2 separate regions of the Homo sapiens genome follow, and region 1 is linked to region 2. Evidence: promoter capture Hi-C in 16 types of primary human blood cells and fetal thymus (Javierre and others, 2016). All regions are on one chromosome and are shown on one strand. Each heading gives the region's core, a stretch centred on a gene start or on the middle of the fragment in contact. The rest is flanking DNA. Distances are from core to core; before and after follow the strand shown. Region 1 overlaps FARS2 (phenylalanyl-tRNA synthetase 2, mitochondrial). Region 2 holds the start of F13A1 (coagulation factor XIII A chain).

Region 1 (7,217 bases), core at 2,209-4,708, 840 kb before region 2:
GATTTAGGAACCTCAGGATCCCTCCTGTTACCAAATTTGTGCTCTCCATGTAGCCTCCCAATAACCAGCCCTTCAGTTCTGTGAAGGCAGGAAAACACATCATTCATGAATGTCCTTCATACCCATCAAACTAAAGGACTGCATACTTCTCGAGCCATCATCACATTTCCGTTATCTCCAATGGCACATGCCGCTGTCTACATGTATTAATTTCTGCTGGGGCTTCAGTAACCAGGGCCAGCCAGCACGGTTTGTTCATTTGTTTGTTCATTAATGCATTATTTCATTTATTTATTATTGACATATGTTGGGCAGTGTACCGGGTACTTGAAGTGGAGATGAAGGTGGGACACAGGGAGACTCACAGTCCCAAATTTTATGCTGAAGGTGTGTTGTAGAGATAAGATATACAGTCATGCATCACTTAACAACAGGGATGCATTCTGAGAAACATGTTGTTAGGCAATTTTGTCGTTGTGTGAACATCATAGAGTGTATTTACACAAACCTAGATTGTGTAGCCTACTACACACCTAGGCTGTATGGTATGGTCTGTTGCTCCTAGGCTACAAACATGTACAGCACTTTACTGAATACCGTAGGCAATTGTAATGTGACGGTACATTTTTGTATATCTGAGCATATCTAAACATAGAAAAGGTACAATAAAAATACAGTACTGTTTTTTTTTTTTTTTTTGAGACAGTCTCACTCTGTCGCCCCGGCTGGAGTGCAGTGGCATGATCTCTGTTCACTGCAACCTCTTCCTCCTGGATTAAAGCAGTTCTCTACCTCAGCCTCCTGGGTAGCTGGGATTACAGGCACCCGCCACCACGCCCAGCTAATTTTTGTATTTTTAGTAGAGATGGGATTTCACCATGCTGGCCAGGCTGGTCTTGAACTCCTGACCTCGTGATCCACCCACCTCGGCCTCCCAAAGTACTGGGATTACAGGCATGAGCCACCACGCCGGTGCCCAGCCCAGTACTGTCATCTTACAGGACCACTGTCATATATAAGTAGTCTGCCATTTACCAAAACATTGTTACTTGGTGAACGACAGTGTACAGGAAGAACCATATACAAGGTGGAAATTGACAAGTACCACAAGAGGAAAACTAAATGAAAGGATATGATTGTTTGCAGATAGGAGAAATGACTTCTCCGTGGGTACTGGGGAAGGTTTTGTGGCATCTGACTTAGTCTTTGAAGAGGTTCCCAATTCACTCATAGCCAATGGTTGAAAGACTAGATTTCTTGGACAGTTCTCAAAAAGAGTTGGATATGCAGGCTTGAAGAGAAGTATATTTTAGGCACGTGCAAGAATGTGGGCGTAGTACTACTTTGGACATAACAAAGAAACAACTTGATTTGAATGTATGATGTAGAAAGAGCCTTTTGGAGCCAGATTACGGAGGACCTTAAATGCTCAGCCAAGGAGTTTAGACTTCCTTTTATAGTCAGTGAGTTGAGGGATAATAAAAGAGGACAGATGAGAAGACGTTGCATGAAGCATGTGCGTTTCAGACTAGGACTCTCCCCTGACCACAGTCCTCCAAAAACTTCCCATGCAGCTTCAGGTAGAATCTCGGCTCTAGCTCATGGCCTTCAAGGCTCTGCATCATGGGCACCTGCCTCCTATTTGGACATCATAGACCCCTCTTTACTTCCCTCACTCCTGTAGTCACACTGTTTACTGTTTCCAGCTGAGTCTCTGCTCTTACTGGTCTCTGTAGCTGAAATACTCCTACCCCAGGGCTTTGCATGGATGCCGCCTTCTCATTACTCAGGTGCAGCTCAGAGAGTCCCTCTTCCACTCTTTGCCTGTCTCCCAACCTCCAATTCCCCTCTCTGTGTCCCAGTCTCAAGTGGCTTGCTGTCATGGATGCCGGTCGTTGCTCCCCTGATGTTGTTTTCTCCCATGATTTTGCTCCATTAGCCATTCTGTAACTCAGGGAAGGTGTGCCTATCCGTTGGCCAGGGGCTAACCTGATCATAGTAATTCTCTTATTATCAGTGATTGGTTCATTCATGGCATGTGACCCAGTGAGGGACCAATGAGACATGATGGGGGAAAAGTGTCTTCCCTTCTGAGAAAATGTCACTAAAGAGATGTTGCCTCTTCCTTCCCTCCAAGTTGAAGATCAGGAGGTGAGGTCTGGGTCTGCTGAGTAAGGACAGTTGACACTCAGAAGAAGGCAGCCCCCGGCGAACGGGAGAGAACCAGGATATGGATGGAACATGCCCACACCTAGACTTCTTGTTTTGTGAGATGTTATCTCCTTCTCAAGTCCCTTTGAGTCGTGTTTTCTATTACCTGAGTGGGAAGCATACTAATTGATGTTTTCTTTTATATCACTCTGCTTTATTTTCTTCATGGCATTTGTCAGTTGGTGAATTATCCTGTTTATTTATTCTCATGTTTATTGCCTGTCTTCCTTACTATCAGTGAAGCTTCATTTGGACAGGAACTTACCTGTCTTGTTAACTGAATTCACAACTCCTAGAACTGTGTGAAGAGTATCGGTAGGTGACCAATAAATAGTTATTGGATGAATGAATGAATGAATGAATGGAGTGAGGGAGGGATGAACAAATGAAAGAATGAAGTGAGGGAGGGAGATTAATGTTGCCCTTGTATATTTTATAAAATATCATGGGGAGGGGTTGGAGAGGGCTTATGGAAGGCCGTTGCCATGCCGAGGAGTTCACAGCTAGGTATTGAGAGCCTGCCCCTTGGTTGTTGCAGTGCAGTGGGGAAGGGCCAGACAAAAGGGATGTGACAAACCTAACAGGACTTGGAACTGCGGCCAGAGTGGAAATGGGGAGAGGTGGGCTTAACTCCTGAGGCTGCACCAGGGGGTTATTGGGAGGAATAGGATGTAGGAGGAATAGCAGTTGCAATACTGGAAAACAAGGAAGTGTATTTTGGAAGTGTAGGATATTAAGTGCCAGTTAGGCATCAGTGTGGAGCTCTAGCTGGTAGTTGAGAATGTAGAAATGAAGACAGACTACTTTTATAATCAGAAGAAAATATCCCTCTTTCTTTATAAAGATAATCAGGCCTGGCAATTGGTACTTCTCTTTCCTAGTTATTATGCCTGACTCAAAAGCAGACTCCATGTCCAATTCAATTTATGTGGCCAGAGCCCCTGTTTTATGTGCCTATCATAATAATTTGTGTATAATTCCTTTATTAGAACAAAACCAAAACCAAGTAAAGACCTTGACTGTCCTTGGGTCTAACAGGGCTAAACAGAGCTAGTTCTAAGAATACTTAGATGGTCAGAGATTAGCCAGGAACTAGTTTCTGAGCAGTGTCTCAGCTCACAACAGACCTCCTTCAGGTATTCCCTATCTCATTACCCTAGCTTATTGTCTTCCTGCCGACACTTCCTGCTTTCCTGAAATACCACTTTTATTTGTTTGACCCATGAGAACAGGGTTGATTAATGCCAATTGTGACTATTATAAGGCCTAGTTGACTTGAGTTAGAGAATGCTACAATGTTTTCACTTGTCTTGTCTCACTGCGGCATCTCCAGGACATATAACATAGTGATTAGGAACACTGGCTCTGAAGTCAGACTGCCTGTGTTTGTATCCAGTCTTACTAGCTGGGTGACCTTGGGCAAATTACTTAATGTCTCTGGGCCTCAGTTTACAAATTATTGTAAATTAATTAATTTTGTGTGTGTAATTAACTGATATCTTTTGAGGAGTAAGCAAATAAATCCATATCAAATACTTAGGCAAGGCTGGGTGTGGTGGCTCATGCCTGTAGCCCCAGCAGTTTGGGAGGCCAAGATGGGAGGATGGCTTGAGACCAGGAGGTGAAGACCAGCCTGGGCAAGATAGTGAGACCTCATCTCTACAAAAAATAAAAAAAATGAGCTGGGCGTGGTGGTGTGTACCTGTAGTCCCAGCTACTTGTGAGGCTGAGGTGGGAGGATCACTTGAGCCCAGGAGGTCGAGGCTGCAGTGAGCCATGATTGCACCACTGAACTCCAGCCTGGGTGAAAGAGCGAGACCCTGTCTCAGAAAACAAACAAACAAACAAAAAACAAACCAGTAACAATGACCCGCCCCCACCAACACACATACAATAAAACACTTAGTGCTTGGCACATATTAAACGTGATGTCAGTATTAACCTGGCACACGAAGACACTCAGTCAATATGTGTGGAATCCAACTGAAAGAGCGCAGATTGATGTGGCTGTAACAGGGGCTCCAGATAATTTCATTAGCCTAACCTGTGACCAGTTACTATTTAACCTGGCTGTCTATTGGTAGCTTTTTCCAATTCTAGATAAAATCCTAGTATGGTACAGACAGATAGGTGGTGATCATATATCTTTCACTTGTATGATGCTTTTACAGATTATTTTCTTACTATCTGATCTCATCCTGACAGCTAATCTTGGGAATAGACAGGAATATCATTTCCGTTTTATGAAACAGGAAGCTTAGGCACAGAGAGGTTAAGTGTCCTTAATAACTCATGGCAGAAGCATGAGTAGAGCATGAGCCTCCTGTTTCCCAGACCCTGGCTGGAGCTCCCCATCTGTTCATCCCAGTCTATGCTACCAATGAACATAGAATACATGTCCAGATGCCCAGGCAAGATAAGCGTTCAAACCACCATGATTCTCTCACATCGACTGAGTGCCCCTGTCTTGCAAGTGCGGAACAACCAGCACCACCATTAAAATGGTGGTTCGTCCAGGGTGCTTCCCTGGCTTCCCCCAAATTAGTGCTCTTCGGGCTGTGTATACCTAGTCTGAGCTGCCATGAGTGGCCAGATGGTTGTGGTTTGTTCATTCCCTCTTGGTGGCCACAAAGCAGGGCTTCCCAGGATTGCGTTATTCTCCCTCTGAGCCAAGGAGAGAGTGCTCAGGCCTGCAGGGGAGTGAGACAGAGCCCCAAATACTTGCTGAAAGTGCCAATATTTTTAGAAGCTCCCTATCTTTTCTTGACTATAAAATATACAAATTATAAACACCATCATATATTCACATTTATTTTAGTATGTAAAAGCAATTAGTTTGTTTGTTATGTAGTAAAATTATGGCTTCTGGGAATTCCATCGGGGTGAACCCGTGAATCTGTATCCTGGACATACTTGCAATGCGTATCAGCCTGTAGTCACTTTTGCTTAGGTTAAGGGTCTGGCCATCTGAGCACAGTTGGTTCTCTGTGTACGGTCTTTTCACTTGTCATCCCTTTTTTAGGGAAACCCTCCTTGGGGTTACAACATTTAACATGCTGCCTACAAAATGTGTTGGGTGTGTGCCCTCTTTCTTGTTGGCATTGTTAGATTCTACTCATTGTATTCAAAATGTCATATTCCATTCCAGGAGATACCACAGTGGGAGAGGCAACATGACATAGAGTGCATTTTAGGAGGCTGAAGCAGGAATTGAGTTCTACTTTGCTTTAGTGTTCATGCGTTTGACCAGGGGACAGTCTTTTCTTGAAAACCCAGGACAGCAAAGTCTCCAGATAGTCATCTAGTTTTAACTCCCAGCAGGATAAAAGCATTTCTAATACACAGTTGTTTATCTTTTAAATTTTGTCATCTTTCTGATCCATAACTTCTACTTTTACATTATATATCCACAGAAGTTATAACTTCTTATAACAAATGCTGTTACAGCTCAAATCTCTGCATAATAAAGCAATTGCTAAAGCCCTGTGCAGTGACCCAGTTCAGGCGGTATCGTGTATATAAAATTCCACAGCGATTTAAAAAAATCATTCTGGTTTGAATTATTTTATTAACTCCACATTACAACTTAATTGTATGGTTAGGTAACAACTTTAAAGCAGTTAAGCCAAAACCCACACAGCCACACCTGAATATACCAGTCTCAGGGAGATACCAGCTAGCTATATTGATGCACCCTGTTCTAGCACAACCCTCTGCTCCTCAGGAGAAGGAGAAGGGCAGGACCATTGGAAGAGTTAGGGACCTACGGCCCCCTTCTGTCATGTCTGTGTCTGCACAGATCTTTCCAAAGAGTAGATTATTGGCTTAGTGTTAACCTGGAGGAATATTTCTAGTTGGGGTGATGCAGAGCCCTGTCCTCAGAACTGTCTGGTTCACGATTTTTATCAACGACTTTGATGAAGACATGTTTATCAAACTGGCAGTTGACGCAAGGCTGGGAGGATAGCTAATGTGATTAGTGACTTGATCTTGAGTCAAGAAAATCATGATCGTCTAAACGGATGCGCCAGAAATAACAGGGTGAAAAATAGTAAAGTTAAATATGAAGCCTTCAAATTAGGTTTAAAAAATTAATTGCACAACTCCAGAGTGGAAAGAAGTGGAGGATGTAATTTGTCACAGATTCAATATGAGTTAACTTATAATAAGGCTGTTGAAAAATGCAGGCAATATTATAGAAGTACATATACAGCTCAAAAAAAGTAAGAACATGGCGCAGAACGCATCTGGTTTATTGTATCCGGTGTTTCTTTTCTCTTCCTGACCTGAGATATACTAAAATTCAAAGATTACCTAATGGCATACCTGTTTTAGTAAGTTAAGTGCAAATATTCTAACTGCAAGTTGAGATAGGTTGAGACATGTGACTTTTGGATAAACTCTTTGAGGTAAGAATGACGGTTTCAAGCACATTTTGGGAAATTGTCAAAGATCTGGAGTAAGTCCTGCCCTTTGCTATCTCCTTCTTGCCTCTCTGCCACTCTGTCCCCTTCCCTCAAATAAAAACTTCTGCTACCACTGTCACTTAAAGCAAAGCTACCAAATAGGTGGCTTCTTTTCTGACTGAGTTGCCTGCAATCTTTTATCCTTCCTCCTTCCTCCTAGGTTTAACTGCATGGTGAATTTATAGTGTCATAATGGATGTCTCTTTAAAGCAGGATTCTGCAGGATCTATAGAAGACTAAAAATGAAAACAACATCGAGTGTGTATGAGTGTGTGTATGTGCACACGCATACGTGCATTTGTGCATGTGCTAGTCTGTTGGTCGAAGCCATTTTGCAAAATTAAAAATGAAAGCACTCTTTAAAACAGTCTTTGCAGTTAGCCTGCAGCACAGTGTTCACTGGCAGCAGGAAAAGGCAGTGAGTCCTTTATGCACGTCTTACACCTCCCTTTCAACTCCCTGTCTCTCCCCGCTGGAAAGAGAAATATTCTGGCACAAGCATCTTCTCGTCTCGGTTCAGAACGGGTACCACCTGCCTCC
Region 2 (6,835 bases), core at 2,036-4,535:
AGAACTACAAGTTCGTCTTAGCCCCTCAAACTCTACCACCTGACTGAAGATGCCCTTCTGTTCTGTGAACTTCTTTTCCCAAACTTGGATGGTACTGGATACCTCCCTGATTTCACTATTTGATATCAAATCATCTAGTGTGACAGTAACACAATGACACCAGTCCACAACACCTGGGCAAGTGTCTGGCTTGCTGGATAAACTGCACTTCCCCTTTCCCTTTGCTATATGGAGAGCTGCATCAATCTGGGCTTTCAGGCATTGGTCTCCTTCTAATGAGGGGAATCGACCACACAGCTCCAGCATGACCATGCTCACCTATCCCAGCAAATAGGTGTTTATCCCCAGTGAAACCCAGCACAGAACACCCTTAGGAGTAAAATTAGATTTTGGTGCATGAATGTTATTGACAAAAAAGACTCCCTGCTCAATGCCACTCGGGGACATGAGTCTGAATGTCCCTGCCATGGCCCAGGGGAATGATGTCTGTATCACCAAACCAGTGCTGGCACCTGGACCTTGTCACCACTGACAGGGCTGAGAGGAGGTCAGCTGCCGGCTGCTGTACCCGGAACAGGTTTCTAGGGATCAGGCAGAGGCAAGAGGCTGGGGAAGCAGCTTGCCTTGCCAGCTCACCAGGCTGCTCTGGAGAGAAATAGAGGGCTTCTATCTCTATTACTGTCAGAGTCTGGCACTTCTCCCCGGCTCTGAAATTCACAGCAATGGATGGAGGAGGGAGGAGGGAGAAGGAAGGAGGTGCAAGCCAGACAATCAAAACAGCCACAATATTTTGGAAGTGGAATATTCCAGCTAGAGAAAATTCTCTAAAGCATTGAGCAGTAGGGCTGGAAGAGGCCCTAGCTAATCCAGCACTCTGGTTTTGTAGAGGAAATAGTTGAGAGGCAGAAAGACAAAGCAACTTCTCTGAGGTTACAAGGTCAGTAAGGGGCAGAACTGGGACAAGGCTCTGGGTCTTCGGTGCTTTCACCACTTAAAAGAAAGCTTTTGCTTTCTTCCTTTATAAAACCAGAGATTGGCAGGGGGCTTCCTTTTGTGGGAACCCCAGTGGAGACAGAGGATGTTTACCTGCAGGGAAGAGGGGCCAGGGCCCGGCTGTGCCTGGACCCAGAGTGGTGGGGAAGGGGGGTATGCTCATACCTTGCAGGTTGACGCCCCGGGGCACCACGCCCTGAAGCTCCACTGTGGGCAGGTCATCTTCCGCTGCATTAGAGTTATTGGGTGGAACTGCTCTTCTGCCTCCAAAGGCGGTCCTGGAAGTTTCTGACATTTTTGACTTTACAAGGTCCTTCAGAAAAAAAAAAAAAAGAAGACAACAGAAAAGGCATGTAAAGTGAGTAACATTTGAGACAAGGATTCCAAAATAGAGAAACAGATATATCTGTGTGTGATAGCACTTGAGCAACACATTTTGCCGTTTGCATAAATAAAAACTGAGAAGTGGCAGCAAGGATTAGTCTAATGATGGAATACAGTTCCCCAAGGATCTTGGGGAGATTTTTGTATGTGTCAAAACATATGGAAAGCAGAAGAAAAGGGGCTTATTCAAAGAAATTTAAAAATTAAAAGATTTTTGGAGACCCAGATTCCCCCACCCTCCATAATCCTACAGCAGCATCTTCGCAAGAAATGTTTCCTGTTATATGCATGTGCTGTATCTATGTTCATTTCATACAGATTTATGAGATTATAAGTCACTTTTAAGAATAAACGCACACAACCATGTCCAGACAAATGTTGTCTTCTAAAGCGTTTACATTTGCAATTTAATTCAACCAATATTTATTGAGGGCCTATGACATGCCAGGCTGTGATCTAGGTACATGGGATACATCAGAGAACAAAACAGAATGTTTGCTCTGATAGATTATAGTCTGATAGGGTTAGGGTGGAGCCCAAGAAGAGCCATAAGTAAATCCACTTAGGGGTGAGGAGGTAGGAACTGCTTTGGAAATTGAGCCACATGGAGGAGGATAAGGAGGTGGAGAGGTTGGGCATGCAATTTTCAATAGGGCTATCAATAGGCTTAAGAAGTCAGGGTTGCCAACATTTCCCATTCCCCAAGCCTGCTTCCCCTTCCCTTGGAGCTTGTGCAGGCACTGAGCCAGTTTAAACAACACACACCTGACGGTCAGTGCCCAGTAAGTACTTGTTGACCAAATGACCAAATGAAGGGGGACTTTGTTTCTGGGCCCAGTGAAGGTTCCCCCTTGATCCCCTGGATTACCCAGTCATGACTCCTGGAGACTTGGCTATTTTCAAAAACCAGGCACACCCCCAAGAGGTGAAGAGTCCCCATTATAGAGGCCACCAGAGTAGAGAGATGGTTCCAGAGACATGTGGAGCACTAACAACATGCTGGAGAAAAGACAACCACGCCTAAGGTGTCTGGTCTGAGAAGGAGACAGGAGTGTTTGGATGCATAAGGTGTGAATGGGTATCCATAAGTATAGATAAATATATTTACAGTCATTGGTGAGCTGACGGGGGAAGGGAGGGAGAAGAGCGAAAAAGGGTTAATGATAGGGAGAAGGCTGCGAGAGCCATCCTCTAGTGAGAAATACCGAAGGTAGGCTGCGGCATTGCCAGGGGTGCAGAACAGTGTGGCGCGCTGTCGGGAGACACAGTGCTAAGGGGGAGAAGGGGGGAGCCCCAGGTGCACGCCTGGCTGGGTGAGTGCGGCGGGCAGGAGCCCTCGCTTCTGGGCGGGTCTAAGGAGGAGAAGTGGCTCGAGTTCAGCTCCAAATTGGGACGGAGGCAGGCGATGCGCAGGAGTGGGGAGGCGCGCAGGAGTGGGGAGCCAAGCCGGCGGGGTTCCAGTCTAGCAGGCTGTTCTCACTTGGCCCCACTCCCTCCACCTTTTGTGTTCCAGCTCCATAATCTGCTCCCTGAGGAAAGGGGGCTCGTCCCTTGGGGAAGCACCTCCAACTCCCCCATCCCCATTTGGTGGCATTCTAAGCAAGCAACGGCTTCGGGAGAGCTGCCTCGAGAGCCTGAGAGAAGTCCCGCTTAGAAGCTGGGCTGGGCAGGTGCGGAGTTGGGGGCGGGAAGCCAGGATTGGGCAAGTGGAGCTGCCTGTGACCGGCGCCACAGGGCCCAGAGCAAGCCGCTTGCTGGTTCAACCAGGAAACCGAGGTGCAGAAGGTGGACGCAGCGGGCCCTGGCTCATAGGGTGCAGGGTCGGTGGCTTACCTGCAGGCGCTCCCCTCCAGAGGTGCCCTCGCGTGGGCTTGCTCTGTGCGCCTCGGGGACTTCCTCAAACGGACTCGGGAAAGACAAGACAGTTGGCTCTTAAATAACTTCCTAAGAGGAGCCCTCACCCTCCTCCCCTGTCCCACAGGGTTTTCTCCTCCCCCTTCTCCACAGCTGGAGCCAGTAGGGGAGCTCAGAGGATTTTCTATTTACTTCATCTGGCCTGTTATCCCGGCAGGTGCGCCCTTCTCTCCCACTTGCCCCTCTGACTCCCAATTTCCCATTCCCACTTCTCCTCCCCATCCCCATCCCTAGATCTGCCCTCCCCACCGCAACCAGTTGCTGGGAGTACCAGGCAAGGGGCCCTGCAGTGCCAGGAAGTCCCCACCCGTCCCCTTTGGTCAGAGGGTCTGGGAGGGTTTCCTTTACAAAGGAATGCTTTTGCCTGGCAGGTCAGCTGCTACTGTGGCTTGGCAGGAGGGGGGTCTGCCCTCCCACAGACAGGTCACACAGACAGTTGTGACCATGCATGCAGTGAGAGCAACGTGTCCCTCCTGTGCAAATAAGGCATGGTCTGCATTCCTGAATCATCCCAGAGCCACAGCCACCGCCTAACCACAAGACTTCCTGCAGGAATGGGATGCCTAGCCCCAAGGAAGATGAGTAAACATCTTTAATAATGCCATGCAGATTAGAAAATAACACTTGGTTTTCTCTGAAAATCATTTTAGTGCATGTTCAAAAATTAGAAAATTTTCCCCCTAAAATTTTAATTTTTTTCTTTTACTCTTTCTTTCTTTCTTTCTTTCATCTTTCTATCTTTCAGATGAAGTCTTGCTCTGTTGCAAAGGCTGGAGTGCAACCTCCACCTCCCGGGTTCAAGTGATTCTTCTGCCTCAGCCTCCCAAGTAGCTGGAACTACAGGTGCATGCCACCATGCCCGCCTAATTTTTGTATTTTTAGTAGAGATGGGGCTTTACCATGTTGGCCAGGCTGGTCTCGAACTTCTGACCTCAGGTGATCCACCCTCCTTGGCTTCCCAAAGTGTTGGGATTACAGGCGTGAGCCACCGCACCCAGTCAAACATGGCTATTTCTAACCTTCTTTACTGTCTTCAAATTTCTGACCCTGCCACTCAATCTCCCAATGTTATAAAGAAGAAAAAAAAAGATGCCATTGGTTAGAAATTCTCTCAATTTTCTGCTACCAATCTATGAACCTGCCTGCAACCTTATCTATCTTTTCCTCTTTCTTCTTGTTACTGAAGTTGGAAAGGTCCCTCCTCCCTCTGCATCTCCAAACCAGGCTTCTGCGTTGCCTTGTTCTCCGGGGCTTTGCTGTGACTCTTACGTACTCTTCCTCTTGCAGCTTCAAGCTCCTGCTTGCTAATAGTGGGTCTTCTCAGCATTCATGCAATTTCAGGTCTCTTCAGTATTTTTTTAAAAACCTCCCCCAACCTATGTCCCCACTCCTGCTGTTACTCCTCCTCTCCTCCCCTTCATCACTAAGTATCTGCCATCTGGCTTCCGCCTCATCATTCTACTGAAAGTGGAGGTCACGGTCTCCAAGGCCTGTGCTCAGGCCAAAAGACAGGATTCAGTTCTTATTTACCTGACCTTTTGGAAGCATTGAACTCTGTCTTTGAAGGTATTTTTCCTAGGCCTCCTTGACATTGAACACTCTGTGGTTTCCTCCAGTGCAGCGCAATATTCCTTGATTGTCTGAGGAACTCCCATAGTTTTCAAATTCCATCTATATCCTGACACCTCCCAAATCTGGGTCTTTAGCCAAGATCTTTTCCAGAATTGCAGATTCCCGTATCTAAGTGCCTACTGGCTATCCTCATTTGTCACATCCCAGTGACAACACACGCTCATCATGTCTAACATGAGATGTATCACTTTCCTGGAAAACCTGGTGCATCTCAGGAGTTCCCTACCTCAATGAATACCATCACTTTGCACGCAGGTGGTACACCAGACACATGGGCATCATTCTTGAGGCTTCCTTGTTTCTCTCCCTCAATCATCAAATCCGATCCTTGAGCAAATATTTTCTATCCTACCTCTTAAACAGCCCTTGAATCTACCCGTGTATGTACCCCTTTCCAGTCCATTCTCTACAGTGCAGTCAGAATGAGCATTTCAGGGCTAAAATCCGAAATCAAATTATTTGCACAAAGCCCTTATATGGCTACTTCTCTTTGCTTTTTGGATAAATTGCAAGCTGAAACTGACAAGGCCTATACAAGCTGGACCCTGCCTCTAGCACTGCTCTTTCCCTCAGCATCCATACAATTTGAGGTCTCCAGTATTTTTAAAAAACCTTCCCCCAACACCAATCTACCCTCCCTGCCTTCCACTGTTGTTTCTCCTCTCCTCCTCTTCATCACTAAGCTTCTGCCATTTGGCTTCCATCTTTCTTCCCTATCATCTTCCTCTGCCATCTTTCTTCCCTGCCCAGTCTCCCTCCACTGACTCCCCAGTTGTCTTGCAAGGAGTTTGCCTTGTTGTAGTGCTCCTCACACTGCATGATCATTTTCTGTTTCCTTGGCTGTACCTGCACTAGAGTACAAAAAGGTAGGGACTCCAGCCAGAGTTCCCTGGAGAGAGGCTGCTGACCACTTAACTATCCAAAGGCCGTCTTTGCCACATCCCTTGCTGAGTGCTAGAGAAAGACCCTAAAGATGTCTAGCACTGCTTCCCCTCAGCATTCATACAATTTCAGGTCTCCTCAGTATTTTTAAACCCTCCCCCAATCCTTAACGATCATATTCTGGTAGTTCTCCTGGCAAACATCAAATCTGAGTGTCTAGAATTCCAAGATACCCTCATCCATGTGGGGTTGGAGGATGAGCAGCCACCCTTGCACCCTTCAGATGAGGTTACGCAGATGCCAGGTACCCCTGGGACTTGGGGTTGAGTTGTGCATTCAGAACAGGATTGTCACCCTCACAACCACCTCCACGGTGTCACTTTTGGCCTTAGACTAATTATTGGCTTTGTGAACATACACACACAGTGGTTGGCTTTCTGACTCCCCCAAACCACTAACCTCAAGAGCATCATAAATGCAATGGCTTTCCTTGTGCTAAACAAAGTCGATAAAAATGTGTCTAAGCCACCAAGCCCTAGAATGCGGTTGAAGCCCATTCATTTTACAGGGTATTCCTCATGGTTATATGGCTGAGACATCAGAACAAAGGTTTCTGGTCACACAGTGAATCTTGAACTGTGCTAGGGATGCAACTTCCACAGGTGCATAGGCTCTGAGGTCCTTAAGGATGGGATGGTGTCTTTTATTTCTGAATGCCCCCTGCCTGGCATGGAAGTGGAGCCATGTAAATATTTAAGGCATGTAACAGACGGGGTTCATCCAGGAAAACAAAAACCACTTTAGGTCTTTCTAAAAGAAGGAATTTAAGGCAGGGGATTGGTTACACAGGTGAGAGAAGAGACAAGAAACCAAACACGAGAAGGTGAATCAACTCCACAATTAGCAACAGCAGAGAGGAGTTGGTGTCGTTGTAGCGGGAGGACTGAGGGTAGGTCAGGCACTGGAACCGTGTGGTCCTGTCTGGTGGGAGCTTTAGATCCCATAATTCCAAGAAACACTGTCTGAGGTC

What was found. Contacts are between HindIII fragments. The CHiCAGO score rates a contact against its expected background, and 5 or more counts as called.
Region 1: a contact is called between a fragment that was not itself captured here and the fragment with the promoter of F13A1 in region 2, in 1 of 17 cell types (naive CD8 T cells). The highest score is 5.8, in naive CD8 T cells.

Annotation. Positions count from the first base shown.
Region 1 is chr6:5,473,982-5,481,198 of GRCh38, forward strand. All of the region lies in intron 4 of FARS2 (phenylalanyl-tRNA synthetase 2, mitochondrial), which reads left to right. Among named protein-coding and RNA genes, the nearest start is that of FARS2-AS1, 20 kb to the left of the region's middle. The HindIII fragment of the contact is 2,013 bases long and covers 2,453-4,465 here.
Region 2 is chr6:6,317,377-6,324,211 of GRCh38, forward strand. It overlaps F13A1 (coagulation factor XIII A chain), which reads right to left and starts at 3,286. Exons shown (of 15, transcript NM_000129.4): 1 at 3,211-3,286; 2 at 1,159-1,306. The coding sequence starts at 1,288. The region is part of intron 1 of LOC124901253 (a long non-coding RNA gene); the gene reads left to right. The HindIII fragment of the contact is 4,604 bases long and covers 1,001-5,604 here.